Linked DNA regions of Homo sapiens: regions 1 and 2 are each linked to region 3. Evidence: promoter capture Hi-C in human tissues and cell types (Jung and others, 2019). All regions are on one chromosome and are shown on one strand. Each heading gives the region's core, a stretch centred on a gene start or on the middle of the fragment in contact. The rest is flanking DNA. Distances are from core to core; before and after follow the strand shown. Region 1 overlaps IL18R1 (interleukin 18 receptor 1). Region 2 has its middle 35 kb from the start of IL1RL1. Region 3 holds the start of IL1RL1 (interleukin 1 receptor like 1).

The links. The method cuts DNA at HindIII sites, captures the fragments that hold promoters and counts their contacts. A contact is called where the count stands out against the background at its distance.
Region 1: a fragment that was not itself captured here is called in contact with the fragment with the promoter of IL1RL1 in region 3 in 1 of the 25 tissues and cell types used here (neural progenitor cells).
Region 2: a fragment that was not itself captured here is called in contact with the fragment with the promoter of IL1RL1 in region 3 in 2 of the 25 tissues and cell types used here (spleen and stomach).

The regions. Positions count from the first base shown.
Region 1 is chr2:102,357,913-102,360,616 of GRCh38, reverse strand. All of the region lies in intron 1 of IL18R1 (interleukin 18 receptor 1), which reads right to left. Among named protein-coding and RNA genes, the nearest start is that of IL18R1, 3.5 kb to the right of the region's middle. The HindIII fragment of the contact is 5,320 bases long and covers 1-2,704 here.
Region 2 is chr2:102,275,683-102,278,382 of GRCh38, reverse strand. No RefSeq gene overlaps it. Among named protein-coding and RNA genes, the nearest start is that of IL1RL1, 35 kb to the left of the region's middle. The HindIII fragment of the contact is 5,826 bases long and covers 1-2,700 here.
Region 3 is chr2:102,310,241-102,312,940 of GRCh38, reverse strand. IL1RL1 (interleukin 1 receptor like 1) reads right to left here and starts at 1,378. Exons shown (of 11, transcript NM_016232.5): 1 at 1,318-1,378. The HindIII fragment of the contact is 14,312 bases long and covers 1-2,700 here.

The sequences.
Region 1 (2,704 bases), core at 15-2,514, 48 kb before region 3:
TTTAACATGTTTTCTTGTACTTTTTATAAATGTTGTCACATAATTAAGATGTTTGGCCGGGCACAGTGGCTCATGCCTGTAATCCCAGCACTTTGGGAGGCCGAGATGGGCGGATCATGAGGTCAGGAGACTGAGACCATCCTGACTAACATGGTGAAACCCCGTCTCTACTAAAAATACAAAAAATTAGCCAGGCACGTTGGCAGGCACCTGTAGTCCCAGCTACTAAGGAGGATGAGGCAGGAGAATGGTGTGAATCCGGGAGGCGGAGCTTGCAGTGAGCCGAGATCTCATCACTGCACTCCAGCCTAGGTGACAGAGCAAGACTCCTTCTCAAAAAATAAAAGATGTTTAAAAGATTGCATATCCTGCATTTCCACCTAATATTACATAATGAGCATTTTTCCTGTGTCACAAAACTCTTTGTTAAAACCATTCTAATTGCCACCTAATATTACTTCATGTGGATATATTATCATTTACCAGATGTATTATGAGATAATCACATGACCATCTTCACAGGTAAGCCAGGATGGCTCAGTTTTTTTGCAGGATGGGCTCAGGTGGCAGCCTGGGTGGATTTGAATCTCCATTCTACCTTCAACCAGCTAACCGACTGTGGGCAACTGACTTGCCTGTTCTGTGCCTCAATTTTCTTATCTATAGAAGGGGATAATAATACCATCTCCTGGAACTGATGTGAAAGTTAAATGAGTTACTATTGCAAGTGTCTGGTGAATGGTAATACCGCTTAAATGTTAGCTATTATTATTTGTCTACATTTCTTATTATTTCCTGGATGTTACTCGATGGCAGTACAGTGATTGAGTTGAAGACTACATTGAAACCTGACAGATGCATGCTGACAAACTGCATTCCAGAAGTGTTGCAATATTCATATTCTCTCACTCAATAGCACAAGACAGCATCTATCGACCACACCCAGAAGCACACTGAGCAGCTTTACTTTTAAAATGTAATTAGACAGCCAAAATGGAAAAATGGTATCTCATTGTTTTCTGAATTTGCATTTCTTTGGGTATAAATGAGGCAAATATTAATCACTTATTATCAGCCATTTTATTTTCATGTTTATGAACCATCTCTTTATGTCTTTTGTCCAGTTCTCAGATGTTTGTCTAACTTGTTGTTTACTTTCTCTCTTTTGTTATGCTAATATATGACAAATTTTATATTGATGTAGTCAAACCGATCATTCTTTTGCTTTGAGATGTTTTCATTGCTTTTAAGTGTAGAATATCCTTTCCTGTTGGTGGTCAAATAGATGCTTACATAGTTTCTTCATTTTTATGGCTCAGTATTGTTTTGTTTTGTTTTTATATTTAACTTTTTTCATCCACCAACAATTAATTTTCTTGATTGACATGAAGATAGGGAGTAACTAAACTTACTTTCCTCAAATACCTACTAATTACTTCTCTATTGTTAATTAAATAATCCTGTATTTCCCCTACGGTTTGCTGACACTAGCTTATAATGTACAGGTCCTCCCTGAGCACTCTACTGCAAGTCTAGCACAGCATGCTTTTCCAAATGCAAACATGCACATGCACACACACGCACACACACACACATGCTCACACACACCAATGTTCCTCTACCCTCCCATGTTTAGTTTTTCTATTCATAGCACTTATCACTAACTGTCATATTTTCACTTTATGTCTGCTTGTTTCTTTGTTATTTGCTGAATTATTGAATGAATTACATCCATAAAATATACATAATTTTGAATCTAGGTGATCATCTGATCCATTGGCACATCTGCACAATCTACTTTTGAAATGCTTTTTAACGCATGATATCTTGGAAAGTATGTTTTAGCAACTAATGTGAAGTCTAGGCCACCAGCTCTCACCCAAGTTTGGAAAAAAATAATGATGCCCGGGCTCCACCCAGTGGTCTGGAGGACAGACTGGGCATCTTGAGTCCTCAGAACTCCGCAGGTGACTCTAACATACAGTCAGGAAGAGAGCCGCCGACGTAGGGCACTTATTTGTATTCTCAGGAAAGTACATTTAATACATCTTAAATGCATATATTTGGTGTGTCTAAGACATATTAAATATTTGTGCATGTACATATGTACGTACGTGTGTGTACACACACATAACGAATAGTCACAAACTTACCTAATCACCCAAAGGCATGAAGTTTTCTCTAAATGAAAAAAAAAAGTTTCCTTCAAAAATTGGGTGACCTAGGCTTAAGGTCAGTTCCAAGCTGACCACTCTGTCTCCCAAGGCAGCACAGTAAAAAGCCCTTCCAGAGGGTCCAAACAGTCACCTGAACCCCTGGCTCTGCCCAGTTGCCCTTGTTTATGGGTCCCACCCTGAGAAACTGACCTTTCTCTAAAAGTAATTCACAGAAACACATAATGTACAGGGAAAGAGCCATTTCAAAGCTCTTTCTAATGAGGAACCTGAGATTTGAGGAAGTGAAATGGCCAGCCTCAGATTACAGCTATTCACAAGGACACACATGAATCAATGTAGATGCCTCAATATAAATCACTCATTAGCAACACATACAATCGAGCAACTCCTGAGACAAAATGCCTGGATGAAAATCATAACACCAGTTTTTTTTTAATATAATTTTTCTTCTACAGTGTTCCATGCATAGTCGTTTTACTCAGCCTGTGAGATGATAAAACAACCAAATGCAAAGAGGAGAAAATGAT
Region 2 (2,700 bases), core at 60-2,559, 34 kb after region 3:
ACTTCCCGGGTTCAAGTGATTCTCCAGCCTCAGCCTCGTGAGTAGCTGGGACTACAGGCATGCGTCACCTTTCCCAGGGAATAGAAACGCACTGTTTCTAAGAATGCTGTTAGATTAGCCACTAAAGAAGAAATGGTGTTCATTTAAAACAAAAGAAAAGAAAAGGAAAAAAGAGAGCTCTGAAAGAAAGCTTGCTCTGTCTATGTACAACAACTACCCGGAGGCTTGTGAAACAACAGCGGAAACCTTCTTAGGTGAGTTGACATTCCTTGCCCAGAGAAGAATACAACTGAGCATTTCATTTTGATGGGCTTAGTGAAAGCTGCTTGTGTGCTACACAGCCTAGAGGTATCTTGGTAGAGAGAGACTGTTCCCAGGGGTTCCAAGTTAGAGAGGGCACATTACAAGGCAGGAGGGTGACCCCACCCAAGTCCCTCAATTATGAGTGTGGACTGGTCACCAGAGTCCCCAGCACAGTTGTGGTCCATTGAACGATAATGGAAACTTCATCTGGAATTGCAAACCAAAAAGAGAGAACCTCCAAGGCTATGAGTGCCTCGTGGCAGCAATGGCCATTTCCCATTACGACCCATGTGGTGGGGAAGAGCAGTGGCAACACTCCTGAGCTCCCTGGGTTGATGAAGCAGGTAGTATCTATAATAATTGTGAAAATTTTTTTTAATGGAGAAACATGTACTATTATCTAAGGACCTAATTTTGACCTAAAGGCAAAAATCCACATTTATTTTGCAGGGCCATTCAATGGGAATGCCATTGAGGAGAATTCCCTCTTACAATGGCTCATTGTGCTCCCAGGCTCCTTTCAGATCTACTGCGGCAGTCATAGTCTTGCACCTATTGTCAGATTACTGGAGCAATCCCTGTTGACAGTGGCTCCTCATTTGCATGTAGCATGTGCAGACCAGCATTCAACTTCAGCCAAGATTACTCTTCCTCACCAACCCCAGAGAGACCTATCCAGCTGAAAACACTGGGAAAATGACTGCAGCATCCCTGAGTGGACAGCTCCTAGCAAACAGGCAACAAGACTGTCCCCACTTCACATGTTTTGACATGAGAGGAAACCCTTGCATTCAACAAGAGAGGTCAGTCCCAGAGACTTATTAATGGGTCAGAAATTCAATTCACCTATATTGATTCAAACTCAGCTGAAAGTTTAAAAAGGTAAAAGGTGAGTGTAGATTTTTTTTCTATGCCCATTTTTCAGTCATTACACCCTAGGAAGTGGTCTTTCTAGGAACTGGAGAATAGGACCAGTGGTTTCCTGACACCTTCTTTGGGGTGAGAAACCCTGACATAAAAGGACAGGTGTTCAGCTGATGTGCATTGACATTGACAACCATGTCATGTACCTTACAGGAAAAGTTGAGAAGAACCACAACCATAGGCAGCGCCTCCTCTAGAATCACACATTATCTCAACAGAGATCCAAAAAGCTAACATTTTTTTAATGATCACAGCAGCTGCTTAATTCAAGATACTCAATATTTCTACATGTATTAGTATAACAAAGAGACAGTTCCACATTTTTTTTTTTGAGACAGTTTCTTGCTCTGCCATGCAAGCTGGAATGCAATGGCATGAACACCACTCACTGCAGCCTTCAACCTCCTGGGCTCAAGCAATCCTCCCACCTCAGGCTCCTGAGTAACTGGAACCACAGGCATGCACCACCATGACTGGCTAATTTTTTTATTTTCTGTAGAGGTAGGGTCTTCCTATGTTGCCCAGCTGGTCTTGGACTCCTGAGCTCAAGCGATCCTCCTGCCTCAGCTTCCCAAAGTGCTGGGATGACATGCATGAGCCACCACATTTGGCGTTCCACCACTTTATATAAAACTAAGTCAGGGCAATGAAGGAGAATGTTATATTTGACAAGGAGCTGTAAAAAAAATTAAAAATCTCAAGATCCCCAAACTCATTATGCTAAAGGGAGAGTTAAGCCTGCACACGGAGTCACTGAACACCTCCATCCTTTTCCCAGGTGAGTAGCTATTATTGCACAAACTGGCATCAAAACATTGTACATTAGCCAGACCCCCCATGGAAAGGCAAAAAGCCTCAAGCATGGCCAGATGGCTGCCCTCACAGATTGTTCTTTGCTGGCGTTGAAACTTTTCAAGATGTATATCCTCTCATAAAACAAGGACATGTCAATTGTAACTTTAGGTCTGCAATGTAAGTCTAGCTCCTAAAACTGAAGTCTGTTAGATTTCACACTGACAATGTGGATTACAAGTTTATCTTCCAGATACCAGAGCATCACCTTGTCTTTGTTCTCTTCCAGGTACAGGATTTTCTCTTCCAGGTACAGAATGAAGACAAGATGAGATCAATCATTCCTCCACCTACCCTGAGACATGTGCATAATTGAGTCTTTATTTACTCCCTTTTTCTTCAGGCATTCACCTTACCTTATATAAAATATAGATTTACTGAGCACTAACTAAAGTCTCGCAAAAATGTAACCATTTGCTTTACACGTGCCCTCCCCTCTTCCTATAGCCTTCTCTCCTTTAGGGAACTGTATGAATACTAAGCTCCTGAAAACCTCTTCAGAGAGCTCAAGCCACAGATGTTTGCTGTGACTTGTGTTGATGAAAGGAGTCAAACTCTGTAAAATATTTGAAAATATTTATTCTGAGACAAGCCATGGCCCATAACACAGCCCTCAGGAGA
Region 3 (2,700 bases), core at 129-2,628:
CAGACAGAAACATGCCTCCGATTTCCTTATGCCTGGAAGAAATTAAAGGAAAAACTGACATTCAGTGGATAAAGCTTTGGGGGCCAGTTCTGCTATGTTTACCTCTGCACCCTCTGTTGAAGTAGCCTTCAGAGAGAAGAAGAATGGAGCCACCAAGCAGAGGATCAAAGCAGGCACCCGCAACAAACTTGAACTTACATCAGTCATTCACTCCCCACCCCTCCAGAAACAATGGCCCTCACTCAAGAGGGCCTTCTCATATCCTCATATCCACCCCTCTCATGTCCGTTCTCTATTTTCTTCTTGCAGATGGGTATGACCCTGCTTCCTCACCCCTTTTGGCCAGCAGCTTCTTGCTTCATTTGTTTTGTTTTTTTCCTTCATCTCCATCTGAGTAGATTACACTGCTGGATTTTGTGGATTTCAGAAAGAATAACTCCAGAATATGAGCACTCTGTGTGTATACTATAAAGCTCCCATCCTTTCTTACCCTCAACCAGGTCTTTTCCAACACGTTGGACCAAAGTCCCATATTACACAAACAAGATTTCAAGGGATTTCATCAATCTGTACCATGATTTTCCCATTGGTAATACTACTTTTCTCACAAGCAAAATTGATAACAATGATTATTATTGTTATAATGTTATATATATTACATTATATATTATATTATAGGCCCTTCATTTGCATAAGGCACCAAAACACAATTAAACTCCTTTAAATTTAATTCAGCTAAAGTTTTTCTTTTAACAGAAGATTGTTTGGAAAGCTAAGTCTTCCCTCTGTCATTGAGTGAATGTTTTCCTCAATATAAATATAATATTATATATATTATATTTAATATATAATAATGTTATAACATTATAACAATAATGTTATATATATTATATATATAATATTTAATATATAATATATATTATATATAATATATATAAATATATTATATATAATATATATTATATATAATATTATATATAATATATATTATATATAATATTATATATAATATATATTATATAATAAAATATATAACATATATGATATATTATATATTATATTATATAATATATATTATATAATTATATTATATATTACAATTATATAATATATATTATATAATTGTATTATATATAATATATAATTGTTATAATGTTATAACAATTATATATTATATATATTATATATTATTATAACATATAATGTTATAATAATATAACAATGAATATTATTGTTATAATGACCTAAATTCGTATGTGAAAATTTTGTTCCCTTTGAGATAAAAGTATTTTTGAAAAATACCCCAAAGCCACTTACCCTCATTGGGTTGTACTTGAGTTCTTTCTTCCTCAACTTTCTGCCCACAGTTTCACAACTCAGAAAGCCAATTTCTCTTACAGCTTTATAGCTTTACTAAATACAACAGCCAGCCTCTCTTTAAAAACCTCCCATTTTCTTTATCAGTTAAGAGACAGGAACCAGGTTACTGATAAGCTGAACCCGATGATCACACTGTTAACAAATGTTAACTGCAGTTTTCACCACATTCTCCCTATTTGAAAGATCTTTAATGAAGTTCTATTTCCAATTTTTACCTTATCTCTATAGATAGTTACATTTTGTCTTAACTATATTTTGCCTTCTTCATGAGTGACTTTCTCAGCAAAACCTCCCTAACACCATGTAGGTGGCAGGTCACTCATTTCCCTTAACGCGAGTTGGTAGTTGTAACTTCCCTATAGTCACATTTCTAGAACAAGAGTACCCATTTCTGCAGCAAGTTGCTTATTTGGTGTTTCTTTCTTTTTTTTTTTTTTTTTTTTTTGAGGCAAAGCCTCACTGTGTCACCCAGGCTGGAGTGCAGTGGCACAATATCAGCTCACTCTGCAGCAAGTTTTGTAACTGATGCCTCGTTGGCAATGTTTTTGAAAACTTTGACACATCTCGTGTGCTTAAGTGTACACCAGGCTCTGTGTGCAGTAATTTGGTATGTGCTATCCCACGCAATCCTCAGAAGCTGACAGGAGCTTCAGAGAGGAGAATTACCTTACCCAAGGTAGCAGCCAGTACAAGGGAAATCCAGGATCCAAAGTGTCTATACCTGGGCTTTTTCCACATGCCCGAGATGGCCTATCTCAGGTGGTTGTAATAGAGATTTATGGACATGTGCTGCAATTATTAGAATTCTGGATAAACTAACCTTAATTATCTATGCAATTTCTAAAAATATTGGTGACTTTCAAATAATCAGGATGTGCCATCTGCCAGAGTCTTCCCTAATATAATAGAGCATGAGATTTAGGGAGAGCACAGCCTAGTTTTCCTCTTCCCAGCTGCTTGACTTTGGGCAAATTCTCTAACCTCTCTCTCGTGTGAAGGGTATTGTTGTCAATATTAAATCAGTAACCTATGGAGGATGCTATCCATATTGATGAAATACTAGTGATTTTCTGCTCTATCATATACCCATCCTATCACACCCAGCACAATTGTGTTTAAAATAAAAACAAACCTTCTGGCAGGGCATGGTAGCTCACGCCTGTAATCCCAACATCCTGGCCAACATGGTGAAACCCCGTCTCTACTAAAATACAAAAATTTGCTGCGTGTGATGGTGCACACCTCTAATCCAAGCTACTCAGGAGGCTGAGGCACGAGAATTGCTTGAACCCGGGAGTCAAAGGTTGCAGTGAGCCAAGA